Linked DNA regions of Homo sapiens: region 2 is linked to region 1. The links are contacts of gene promoters, found by promoter capture Hi-C in human tissues and cell types (Jung and others, 2019). All regions are on one chromosome and are shown on one strand. The core of a region is centred on a gene start or on the middle of the fragment in contact, and the rest is flanking DNA. Distances in the headings are between cores, read along the strand shown.

Evidence for each region. The method cuts DNA at HindIII sites, captures the fragments that hold promoters and counts their contacts. A contact is called where the count stands out against the background at its distance.
Region 2: a fragment that was not itself captured here is called in contact with the fragment with the promoter of TEFM in region 1 in 1 of the 25 tissues and cell types used here (pancreas).

The regions. Positions count from the first base shown.
Region 1 is chr17:30,903,821-30,910,026 of GRCh38, reverse strand. It overlaps TEFM (transcription elongation factor, mitochondrial), which reads left to right and starts at 3,789. Exons shown (of 4, transcript NM_024683.4): 1 at 3,789-3,859; 2 at 5,498-5,961. The coding sequence starts at 3,829. RefSeq lists enhancers at 2,251-3,051, 3,030-3,299. The HindIII fragment of the contact is 8,355 bases long and covers 1-6,206 here.
Region 2 is chr17:30,952,540-30,958,745 of GRCh38, reverse strand. ADAP2 (ArfGAP with dual PH domains 2) reads right to left here. Exons shown (of 11, transcript NM_018404.3): 8 at 5,396-5,458; 9 at 4,191-4,268; 10 at 2,277-2,505; 11 at 1-911. The coding sequence ends at 877. Among named protein-coding and RNA genes, the nearest start is that of RNF135, 15 kb to the left of the region's middle. RefSeq lists enhancers at 400-899, 1,483-1,532. The HindIII fragment of the contact is 5,308 bases long and covers 1,174-6,206 here.

The DNA of each region.
Region 1 (6,206 bases), core at 2,540-5,039:
CAATCTTCTTGGGAATCGGAATCCTCTAACCACATCTAATGGTGGTGCTCCCAAGGAGTTCTCTCCTTATCTCACTGTGCTTTTCTCACGCCTACCCCCTCTCCCTGGCTCCTCGTATCTGTTCTCATGAGTAAAGTACCATCTCTACAGGCTGACGGCCTCCAAACATACACCCCAGCTCAGTGCTCCTCCTTAGCTTCAGATGTGCATCTCTATCTATTGGACATCACCCTCTAATGTCCTGCAGGCTTCAAAACAGATTTTAGTTTGTTTTTGTTTTTTTCAATAAACCTTTTGCACTCCTAACTTAAAAAAAAAAGAAGGAAATAGAAAATATCAGGTTGTATCACATGCAAAAATACAATGGTTGTTTTTGTTTTTCATTTAGTCAGGGTCTCACTCTGCCACCCAGGCTTGAGTACAGTGGTGCAATCTCTGCTCACTACGACCTCCACCTCCCAGGCTCAAGGGATTCTCCCACCTCAGCCTCCCAAGTAGCTGGAACTACAGGCGCATACCACTATGCCCAGCTAATTTTTTTTGGTATTTTTGGTAAAGATGGGGTCTTGCCATGTTGCCCAGGCTGGTCGTAAACTCCTGGGCTCAATGAATCTGCCTGCCTTGCTCTCCCAAAGTGCTGGTATTACAAGTGTTGAACCACCACACCTGGCCTTTTTTTTTTTTTAATGAAACTTTTGTATCACACATGTATCCTGGATCAGTCAAAAGTTTTAAAAACACAGAAACTAGATAACAGGCTAGACATAATGATGGAAGGAGTAGAAAGAGCCAGAGACACCTGCATCTGGGTGACAAAAACAGGGAAGTGAGAAGGAGCTAGTTTTTGGGGGAAGACGGTGACTTTCATTTTGGAGGCATCAATTCTGGTTTACAGTAAATCAGGCAATACTTATCTCTTTCCTTTGTATTTCTGGCTCTGGTCAAAGCATATTTCTGAATAAATGCTTTCAGGAAGGAGGGTGATTCCCCTATAGGTCATTCATAATCATTTCTCAGGAAGAGGGGGGATGCTTTACTGGGCAAAACCACATTGATTGAACTCTTATCTTATGCTGGGTTCTTTGCATCCAGTTTCTCATGCATCCTCCAAGCAGCCCTGTGAGGTAGGTACCATTAACTCCGTTTTACAAATGAGGAAGGTGAGGTTCAGAGAGGATAAGAAACTGACTATGGTGATGCAGTTACTAAGTGATAAACTGTGTCTTGCTAGCGAACCAGACCATCTCTGAAAGCAACACCAGGAATCCTTATGGCCTCTTGTATTAGTTTCTTAGGGCTGCTGTAACAAATGACCACAAACTGGTCATTTATTCTCTCCAGTTCAGGAGGCTGGAAGCCCAAAATCAAGGTGTTATCCGGGCTTGTTCCTTCAAAGGGCTCTAAGGGGACTCTGGCCCATGCCTCTCTCCTAGTTTCTAGTGACTATTGGCAACCCTTGGCCTTTCTGGGTTTGTAGAAAGCATCATTCCAATCTCCGCTTCCATCTTCACATGGCATTCACAGAGTCATCTTCTCATAAGAACAGCAGCCATGTTGGATTAGTCCCTGCCCCAGTCCAGCGTGTCCTCATTTTATTTTATTTATTTACTTATTTTTTTGAGACAGAGTCTCGCTCTGTCGCCCAGGCTGGAGTGCAGTGGTGCCATCTCAGCTCGCTGCAAGCTCTGCCTCCCGGGTTCACGCCATTCTCCTACCTCAGCCTCCTGAGTAGCTGGGACTACAGGCGCCCGCCACCACGCCCGGCTAATTTTTTGTATTTTTTAGTAGAGACGGGGTTTCACCGTGTTATCCAGGATGGTCTCGATCTCCTGACCTCGTAATCCCCCCTCCTCGGCCTCCCAAAGCGCTGGGATTACAGGCGTGAGCCACCGTGCCGGCCTTCCTGTCCTCATTTTAATTAGTTACATCTACAATGACCTTATTTGGAAATAATAAGGTACTGGGGGTTAGGACTTCAACAAATCTGTTTTGAGGGATGCAATTCAATCATAACATCTCAGTAAACTGAATAAGCCCTACAGTTGAGGAAATTATTTCCTCCTGATTTGGAGGATTTTGCAGAAAAAAGTTGATGTTATTTCTTGTTAGATTCCTAAGTTCCCCAGAAACTGCCAAGGTTTCTAGACTTCCTATGAGCAATTTTTTTTCTTTTTTTGAGACAAGGTCTGGCTCTGTCCCCCACGCTGGAGTGTGGTGACACGATCTCCACTCACTGCAACCTCTACCTCCCGGGCTCAGGTGATTCTCCCACCTCAGCCTCCTGAGTAGCTGGGATAACAGGCGTGCTCCACCACACCCGGCTAATTTTTTCGTAGAGACGGGGTTTCGCCATGTTGCCCAGGGTGGTCTGGAACTCAAGAGCTCAAGCGATCCGCCCGTCTCGGCCTCCCAAAGTGCTGGAATTACACTTTGGGAGCCACTGCTCCCGACCAGCACATTTTATTAATACTTATGATTCCCCTACATCCCCACTGCCTTCCAGACACAAACAATCAACCCATTGCTGCCTCATAAAAACGCAAACTCATCACCTTTCCCTCCCTCCTGAATTCCCCGTTTTTCACAAAACTGGCTCCCCATCTTCCAGAAATAATTCTTTTCTTTCCACTCTCCTTACATCTCCTAGGTTCAATTCCTTACGGTTGGCCAGGCGCAGTGGCCCACGCCTGTAATCCCAGCACTTTGGGAGGCCGAGTCGGGCGGATCACCTGAGGTCAGGAGTTCGAGACCAGCCTGGCCAACATGGTGACACCTGTCTCTACTAAAAATACAAAAATTAGCCGGGCGTAGTGGCGCTCGCCTGTAATCTCAGCTACTCGGGAGGCTGAGGCACGAGAATCACTTGAAATCGGGAGGCGGAGTTTGCAGTGAGTCCAGATCGCACCACTGCACTCCAACCTGGGCGACAGAGCAAGACTGTTAAAAAAAAAATTCCTTACGCTTGCCTCTCACCTGGGAAGATACACTCTCTTCGCGACTTCTCATTGCTCCCAGGCTCTTCACCTGCAATCCAGCCTCACATTCGCTATACAGTATATGGCCAATTTTCTAGGAACACTCTCCAGTCTGACTGCAAATCATAAACCTCGGGGACTTCAGGCTTCCTATCTGGTGGAGTATTCAACTGCTCCACCCATTATTCAAGGACCAACTAAATTCGGCGCTACATTCATCTCCCTTTATCCCTTCTAAGAGGAATACCGCTCCAGCGCCAACGCAATCTCCTCCTCCCTCGCCTTTACCTAATCCCTTGCCTGCCCTGTTTCCCCGCTGAGCTCCTCAAACACTTCGCATCTCTCCCCGTTATTCCAGTCTACCTGGTGAAAAGGTTATTTGAGGACCTTGTCTACGCTGCCCCTACCTGATCCCGCTCCCGGCGCCACAGGCTGGGCCCCAACAGGAGCTCCTCAATCTAAGTGTCTAGGAGAAACCCAGGGAGTCTCCACGAAGGAGGCACTTTACCCACTACAGACTAAAACTGGCCTCGGAATCGCCTTCCTGGAGATTCGGCCCAGCGGCTCTCAGGAGTCGGTAGGGGCAAGAACGTTTCCCCGGTGCAGTGGAAGAAGACTGCGGGCCAGCCAGGGACTCGGGATCCGGGGACAGGGCCTCGGCAGGCGCCCGCCTGGAAGCCCGCAGCCCAGACGCGGACGACCCACTGCTCAGCGGGACACACCTCGGGCCTTGCCCCGGAACGCCGCTTGGACAACAACCTTTCCGCCGAGTGCAGGCCGAGCGCTTTTGGGCGCAGCACGCAGGAACCGGAAGTCAATGGAGGAAGACTGGACCTACTGATTCAACTTGGAGATGAGCGGGTCTGTCCTCTTCACGGCGGGAGGTAGGGTGCTTGGAACACTGGGGTGATTTCCCGTCTGTCATTAGCCTCTGACCCTAGAGGCTAATGGAATACGGCGGGAGGTAGGGTGCTTGGAACACTGGGGTGATTTCCCGTCTGTCATTAGCCTCTGACCCTAGAGGCTAATGGAATACGGCTGGAGGTATTCTGGAGGAACCTGGAGTGTTTCCTTCCTCATGTCCCTCATGTCCTAGAGTGTTTCCTTCCTCATGTCCCTTGTTCAGGCCCCTCTCTTGGGGCCCCAGCCTAGCTGACGGGGCAGTTTTCGGAACATTTGTGCTTCCCCGGCCTCAGGGTCCACGGGTGGCTCCTCAGAGTGGGCGGATGGTTCACATTCTCACAGCCGCTTGCTTACCTCTGGCCACATTACTTTCCTGTGGCTGCGATGTTAGAGTGACTTCCCACTGGTTTTACAAAGTTATGCATTGTATGGTGTTTCTCATACTTGCAAAAACGTCATGTAGAAGTCTTGAAAAGTGTACGGAAGAAAGTAAAACTGCCCTTAAATCTATCACTTAGCTGAAACATTTCTTATAAACGTACAAAATTTAATTTTATTTAGTTCCACCAGATGAGATACTAAAATGTGAAAATGGAAGTGAAGACAAAACCCTTTTTTTTTTTTTTTTGAGACGGAGTTTCGCTCTTGTTGCCGAGACTGGAGTGCAATGGTGCGATCTCGGCTCACCGCAACCTCCGCCTTCCGGGCTCAAGCGATTCTCCTGCCTCAGCCTCCCGAGTAGCTGGGATTACAGGCATGTGCCACCACGCCCGGCTAATTTTGTATTATTAGTAGAGACAGGGTTTCTCCATGTTGGTCAGGCTGGTCTCGAACTCCCGACCTCAGGTGATCCGCCCACCTCGGCCTCCCAAAGTGCTGGGATTATAAGCGTGAGTCACCGCGCCCGGCCTAAGACAAACCTTAACAGGAAATATTAGTTACAAAAAGATTCCTCTAAATTAAAAATATCAGAAACTTTAAGCAGTTGGAATAATTATTTCAACTACTTGCTTCCTGATGGGTATAAAATACAATTTTCTAGGTAGTAAAACTTCGGACTGATCCATAAATATCGGGAGACATCTCTCGTGACTTGAAAACAACAAAAGCTCTATTTAAAACTCTATATAATATAGTTTAAAAACTAATCCTCTTTTAAAGATGATTCTCGGGCCGGGCACAGTGGCTCACGCCTGTAATCCCAGCACTTTGGGAGGCTGAGGTGGGCGGATCACGAGGTCAGGAGATGGAGACCATCCTGGCTAACACTGTGAAACCCCGTCTCTACTAAATATACAAAAAATTAGCCGGGCGTGGTGGCAGGCGCCTGTAGTCCCAGCCACCTGGGAGGCTGAGGCAGGAGAATGGCGTGAACCTGGGAGGCGGAGCTTGCAGTGAGCCGAGATCGGCCACTGCACTCCAGCCTGGGCAACAGAGCAAGACTCCGTCTCAAAAAAAAAAAAAAAAGATGATTCTCCAAGACAATTTAATATTGTCCTCTATTAGTTCTTAAATTCCAGGAAAGTATTTGTGACTTTGCAAAGGATCTAGTCAAGCTTGCAACTAACCCCAAAGGAAGTAGGACATCCAACTTATATTTTGCTAAATTTTCCTTTTAGAGAGGTGGAGATGCTTTCTGACCCCGTCGAGGTCATCCCTGTACTGGGCCTTACATAATTTCTGCTGTCGGAAAAAATCCACTACACCTAAGAAAATTACTCCCAATGTTACTTTTTGTGATGAAAATGCAAAGGAGCCCGAAAATGCACTTGACAAGCTCTTCTCTTCAGAACAGCAGGCTTCCATCTTGCATGTGTTGAATACAGCATCTACTAAAGAACTTGAAGCTTTCCGATTGCTTCGTGGAAGAAGGTCCATCAATATCGTAGAGCACAGAGAAAACTTTGGGCCATTTCAGAATTTAGAGAGTTTAATGAATGTGCCCTTGTTTAAGTATAAAAGTACAGTTCAAGTTTGTAACTCCATACTTTGTCCAAAGACTGGACGGGAAAAAAGAAAGTCACCGGAAAACCGGTTCCTGAGAAAGCTCCTCAAACCAGACATAGAAAGAGAAAGACTTAAGGTATATTCTTCATGTCTGCTATACTGCCTAATATTTGAGAACCTACTCTAGAAAGCACTCTTCTGGGCATTGGGTTGGGAAGTGGCTAAGACAGGGTTCTTCAGGTTTAGTTGGCAAGTATATGATCACTACCAAATAATGAGATGTACAGATAGTAAATTGGCAGTTGAGAGGAGAGAAAACAATGGGCTGTGACTGTTGTGGAAAGTTTACTGGAAGAACTCAATTTAGGTCTTAAAAGAGAG
Region 2 (6,206 bases), core at 2,578-5,077, 49 kb before region 1:
AGCTAATTTTTTTTTCTTTGTAGAGATGGGGTCTCACTATGTTGCCCAGGCTCTTCTCGAACTCCTGGTCTCAATCCTCCTGCCTCAGCTTCCCAAAGGGCTGGGATTATGGGCATGAGCCATCACACCCAGCCACGGAGAATCAGAGAGTCTCTTAAGAGACCTCCCAGCTCCTTGGGTCTCCATTGAAGCAAAGAGAGAACATCCAGTGTATTTCTGCGTGGTGCTTGAAGACAGAGGAAAGGAACAACGAGTCACAGAGCAGGGGACTTGGTGCTCTGTTTCTCTAACATTTCAGCCATCTGAGATTTCATTCAGTTCCTCTTTTTCTTTCTGATACGGAGTCTCGCTCTGTCACCCAGGCTGGAATGCAATGGCGCAATCTCACTGCGCCCGGCCATTGACTACTTTATCTTTCACTCTTCATTTTTGAAGAGTCTGGGTCAGATGTTTAGCAGAATGCCCCTAATGTGGATTTGTCTGATTATTTCCTCATGGTTAGATTCAGATTAAACTTTTTTTTTTTTTTTACAAGATGCCACTTGCATGATGCTGTGGGTGCCTTTTCATTGCAATGCCTCCATTTCAGATGTGAGAAAGTTCTGGGCCTGTAGGGCATTTCAAGCCTAGGTGTGTATGGGGGAGGAGGGGATAGATGTTCATCTATGCACCAGATCCTCAGATCCCCGAGGTGGGTTGCGGGGAAGGCCCAGGGAGCTGATGGATAAAGCCACAGCTTCAGTCCTGGCAGAGTTCACTGCCAGGAATGGCTGCTGACTGCGGGGCACTGATGGTGGGCAGCCAGGGCCGAGGTGCAAACTTCTTCCCACAAGGAGTTCCAGGTGTTCAGTGGCAGCCAGTTCCTCAGTTAATGGGTCACCTGCTGCTGCGGCCACTCTCTGTTGATGCAGCTGCAAGGGAAATGAAGAGGGCTGAGGGAGGTGGCCATGCCAATGCTGTCCTGTGGAGGAGAGGGACAGCAAAGGGACAGGCGTACAAAGACAGAGGGAGCCATGGCCGGGCACAGTGGCTCATGCCTGTAATCCCAGCACTTTGGGAGGCCGAGGCAGGTGGATCACTTGAGCTCAGGAGTTCGAGACCAGCCTGAGCAACATGGTGAAACTCTGTCTCTACCAAAAATACAAAACAAATTAGCTAGATGTGGTGTCACGAGCCTGTAGTCCCAGCTACTTGGGAGGCTGAGGTGAGAGGATTGCCTGAGCCCAGGAAGAAGAGGTTGCAGTGAGCTGAGATCGCACCACTGCACTCCAGCCTGGGTGACAGTGCAAGACCCCACCTCAAAAAAAGAAAATTAAAAAAAAAAACACAAAGACAGAGGGAGCCAGAATAAAAAACAGAATGAAAGAGTGAGAGCCAGGGCGTCAGAGGGAATGCACACACCAGCAAAGGAGAGAAAAGTGGAGGGACAGAGACAGAGAGAAACCAAGAGATTCATAAATGGCAGCCCACAGAGAAAAGAAAGCACCAGCTGATATGCCTCACTCACAATTTGCAAGTCCCTTTCTGAGGTTCTCTGGCTTTGGCCTTTATGGGACAGTCAAGAGAGTCTGTGTTTATATCAGTCAGACTCAAAGGGCACAAGTGTTTCCCCCAAGGGGCTGTGCGGGGGTCACCTGCTCAGTCTGTACTTTTCCAAACACAGAAATTCTCCTTTGTGCCCCAGAAGCCAGGTCCTGGGCCAGCAGTTTCCTGCCGGAGCTCGGCATGTCTCCCCTTTTTTCACAGGGCTGTCAGCATTGAGGAAGCCCTACTGGTAAAGAGGAGGAACAGGAGAGAGGCAGACAGAAGGGAGGACTCAAAGAAAAGAAGCCACTAGAAATAGCCTTCCCTCTGGAGTGGGGAGGAATCCAAAAATCCCAGGAGCTGCCCAGCGGGTGTGACCTTAGCTAATAATAACAGGCCAGCGTTTTCTCACGAGAAAAAGGATCAGCATAGAGCACGGTGGAGGGAAAGAGAAGCTGCTTAGCCCCCACACCGCAAGGGGTACAGACAGCACCCAGGGGTTCTGCCAGGGCCAAACTCCTCTAAAAGCTCCTGGGGAAGGGCTCGGTTAGGGGAACCCAGAGTGGACAGAGGAGACCTTTTGGCAATAATGGCATGTCTGTGCTTTTCTTTTGCAGGAAGAGAAGACAATGAAAAGAGCATAGTCAGGAATCAGGAATCTTTTGTGGTATCAAAGCTGAACCTAAGTGAAGAAGCAATTTTCTGTCCTCTGCCCTTGTCCAAAAGAACACCCCTCAGTTCCTGCTTCTTACTAAGCCGGTTGAGGGGCGTCAAGGGGCTGGACAGGACACCCCGCAAACTTTCCAGCCATTCCTGCTGTTCCTTCTCACTGGGGCAAGTGAGGACAAATCTCCGCTCTGGGGTGACAATGGTGAGTCCGGCTTTCCAGCGATTTCCTCGGATGCCCTTGGGCAGGTCTTCGTAGGCTTCATATCCCTGCTCCTTGTTCCCAAGAAAAACCTGGCCCTGCTCGAAGGCATCCTGAAAATGGAGAGTACAGGGTCATCAGAGGGTGCCCCCAGGGCAGAGGGGCCCTGCAGCCCTGACAGCCTCCAAGCTTTATTTTGGGAAAGGGGTATGAGGTCCCTGCTGGGATTTCTGCTAAGTGGGACCCAGAATTTGAAAGATCAAAACCCTAAAATAAATCATACACATCATCTATTGAAAAGATACCGAGGGTGGGCCTGGTAGTTCATGCCTGTAATCCTAGCACTTTGGGAAGCCAAGGCAGAGGATTGCCTGAGGCCAGGAATATGAGACCAACCGGGACAACATAGTGAGACCCCTTCTCTACAAAAAAAAATTATTAATTATTATTATGAATTGTTTTTGGAGACAGGGCCTCACTCTGTCACCCAGGCTGGAAGTGCAGTGGCACAATCATGGCTCATCCCAGCCTCAACCTCCCAGGCTCAGGCAATCCTCCCACCTCAGCCTCCCAAGCAGCTAGGACTACAGGCATGCACCACCACACCTGACTAATTTTTAAGTTTCTTTTTTTTTCTTTCTTTTTTTTTTTTTGAGACGGAGTCTCACTCTGCACCCAGGCTGGAGTGCAATGGCATGCACCCTCTGCACCCTCTGCCTCCCGGTTTCAAGCGATTCTCCTGCCTCAGCCTCCTGAGTAGCTGGGCTTACAGGCACGCACCACCACGTCCGGCTAATTTTTGTATTTTTAGTAGAGACAGGGTTTCACCATGTTGGTTAGGCTAGTCTCGAACTCCTGAGCTCGTGATCTGCCCCGCCTCAGCCTTCCAAAATGCTGGGTTTACAGATGTGAGCCACCGTGCCTGGCCTTAAGTTTCTTGTAGAGATGGGATCTCACTATGTTGCACAGGCTGGTCTCGAACTTCTGGGCTCAAGCGATCCTCCTGTCTCAGCCTCCCAAAGTGCTGGGATTACAGACAAAAGGCAGCACATCCAGCCCTAAATTTTTTTTTTTTAATTAGCTGGGCATGGTGATGCATGCCTGTATTCTGAGCTACTTAGGAGGCTGAGGCAGGAAGATAACTTGGGCCCAGAAGTTCAAGGTTGCAATGAGCTGTGATTGTGCCACTGCATTCCAGCCTGGGTGACAGAGAGAGACTCTGTCTCTAAAAAAAAAAAAATAAGTGATACCTAACATTTACGGAGCACTTATTAAAATCAGCATCAGGAATTACAATGCTTTATATATAGTAACTTAAATAACCATCATGGCAACCTCTGGGGAAGGCATTCTTATTAAGCCTGTTTTTCAGAGGAGGAAACCGAGGCACAGAGCACTAAGTACACGGCTCAAGGCAACACTACTACAAGTGGCAGGGCTGAGACCAGAGCCCAGACGGTGGGGTTCTAGAGTCCACCACACTCCTAACTACTACACATCACGGCCTCTTGGTTAGAAGTGAGCCCTGGAGACTAGAGGAAGAGATACACCATATTTAACTACCATGGGCAGCATTTTGGATACTCATAATAGACTTCCTGAAAGCGAGGAGAAGCTTCATGCCATAGGAGATTACTCAAGAGAAACAAAAACAAGGGGTAGAGGTTTTCCTCTCAAGGTTTCTCTAGCTCTGGGGCTCTGGGAGATGTGTTTATCTGTAGCTTTCACATAGTTCCAGACAAGCACCACCCAGCAATGTTTGAGGAAGCCCTGGGGAGGGAGCAGGAGTGGCTCTTACCAGTGGGTTCTTGTAATAGAGCAGCCTCCGCTCATGGCAATCCAGGGCGAACCACCTTTTCTTGAAAGGTTCTTTCTGCTGCAAAAGAGGGAACTTCTTACCACAGATGACCAGGTCAGTTTCTGAGGATAGAGGTCAGGGGCCAGCCCAGCCCAAACCAAAGGAGCTGGCCAGTCCCACTGGTTCTCCAGCCCAGCCTCCTCAGTCAGACATCCTAGTGCTTCTCCCTGGGGCCTGGATAGGAGCCCTCAGGCTCTGAAGGTTCTGCCCATTCCCCTTCCAACCCCACCATACCCTTTGCCAGCTTCACCCTGCTGCCTCAACTTGGAAGAGGCACCTTCCTCTTTTTCAGGCTGTAGACAAAGAAGCCGGAAAGGAAGTTGGAAAAAATCAGAAGTGGCTACTGCTTGGCAAGGCTGAAAGTGCTGGCCTTGGCCAAATTCTAACCTAGGTCAGGGAGAGAAAGCCCAGCAACAAGAACCAGGCGGAGGGGCTGCGCCTCTCTGAAAACAACCCTTTGACTGCTTTTTCCACCTGCCCAAGGCTTGCTTTCATGATTGCCTAACACAGGAATATCCAATCTCTTGCCTTCCCTGGGCCACATTGGAAGAATTGTCTTGGGCCACACATAAAATACACTAACACTAATGATAGCTGATGAGCCAAAAAAAAAAAATCGCAAAAATATCTCATAATGTTTTAAGAAAGTTCACGAATTTGGCTGGGCATGGTGGCTCATGCCTGTAATCCCAGCACTTTGGGAGGCTGAGGTGGGCAGATCGCTTGAGGTCAGGAGTTCGAGACCAGCCTGGCCAACATGGTGAAACCCCATCTCTACTAAAATTACAAAAATTAGCCGGGCATGGTGGTGGGCACCTGTAATCCCAGCTACTCAGGAGTCTGAGGCAGGAGAATCGCTTGAATCTGGGAGGCGGAGGTTGCAGTGAGCCGAGATCACACCACTGTACTCTGGCCTGGGTGACAGAGCAAGACTCTGTCTCAAAAAAATTTAAAAAAGAAAGTTTATGAATTTCTGTTGGGCATCATTCCAAGCCGTCCTGGGTTGCATGTGGCCCATGGGCTGTGGGTTGGACAAGCTTGGCCTAACACCTTTCACTGTCCTCTTAACAATCATCCCATAAACACATGAAACCTTCTATATACATTAAACCATATTAAGTTCCCCAGGGAGTGATAGAAGGTACCTTTGGCCCAGTCTTTTCCATGAAGCCTTGTTTGAGGTAGTTCCTGGTGAGGAATGGCACGAGCTGGGGAAGAGAGACAGACACTGACCCCCAACTCACACCCCAAGGCTCCAGGTTCCCGCCGAGCTTGGCTCCCGACAAAGGGGAAGTTTGAAATGGGGAAGGATGTACGCTCATGGCTCACAGTATTATATTTGGAAAGTGCAATGGTCATAATATTAATATTTCAACAAAGCCAGTCGACAGCACCCCAGATGTTTGCAGAGCTTAGTGGCACGGCCGAGTTTTGGTTTAAGGATTCCTTCAGTAACCCCAGGGTGTGGACATAGGCAAGGCTCTGCAGAGACCCTCTTGGTGTCAGGCAACATGTTCTGAGGGTCCACTTTGCATCAGGCTCCAGGTGCAATTCTCAATCACCCTGCGAGGTGGGTATCACCAGCCTCATTACACATCTGAAGAAACCAGGCCACAGAGAAGGGGCTGGGGATTTTCCCAAAGTCACATCACTGGTAGCACAAAGAGCTGAGATTCAGGCCCAGGGCCAATGACACTAGACTGTACTCCTACCACTACACTAGGTGCTAAAGTATAAATATGCCAGGGCCCTCTGAGCAGGACCTTGGGAAAGGCCTGGTCAGGATTCTGACACCAAGCAACAAGAAAATAATGGCCAGAGGCTGGGTGCAGTGGCTCACACCTGTAATCCCAGCACTTTGGGAGGTCAAGGCAGGCAGATCACTTGAGGCCAGGAGTTTGAGACTAGCCTGGCCAACATGGCGAAACCCCACCTTTACCAAAAATATAAAAATTA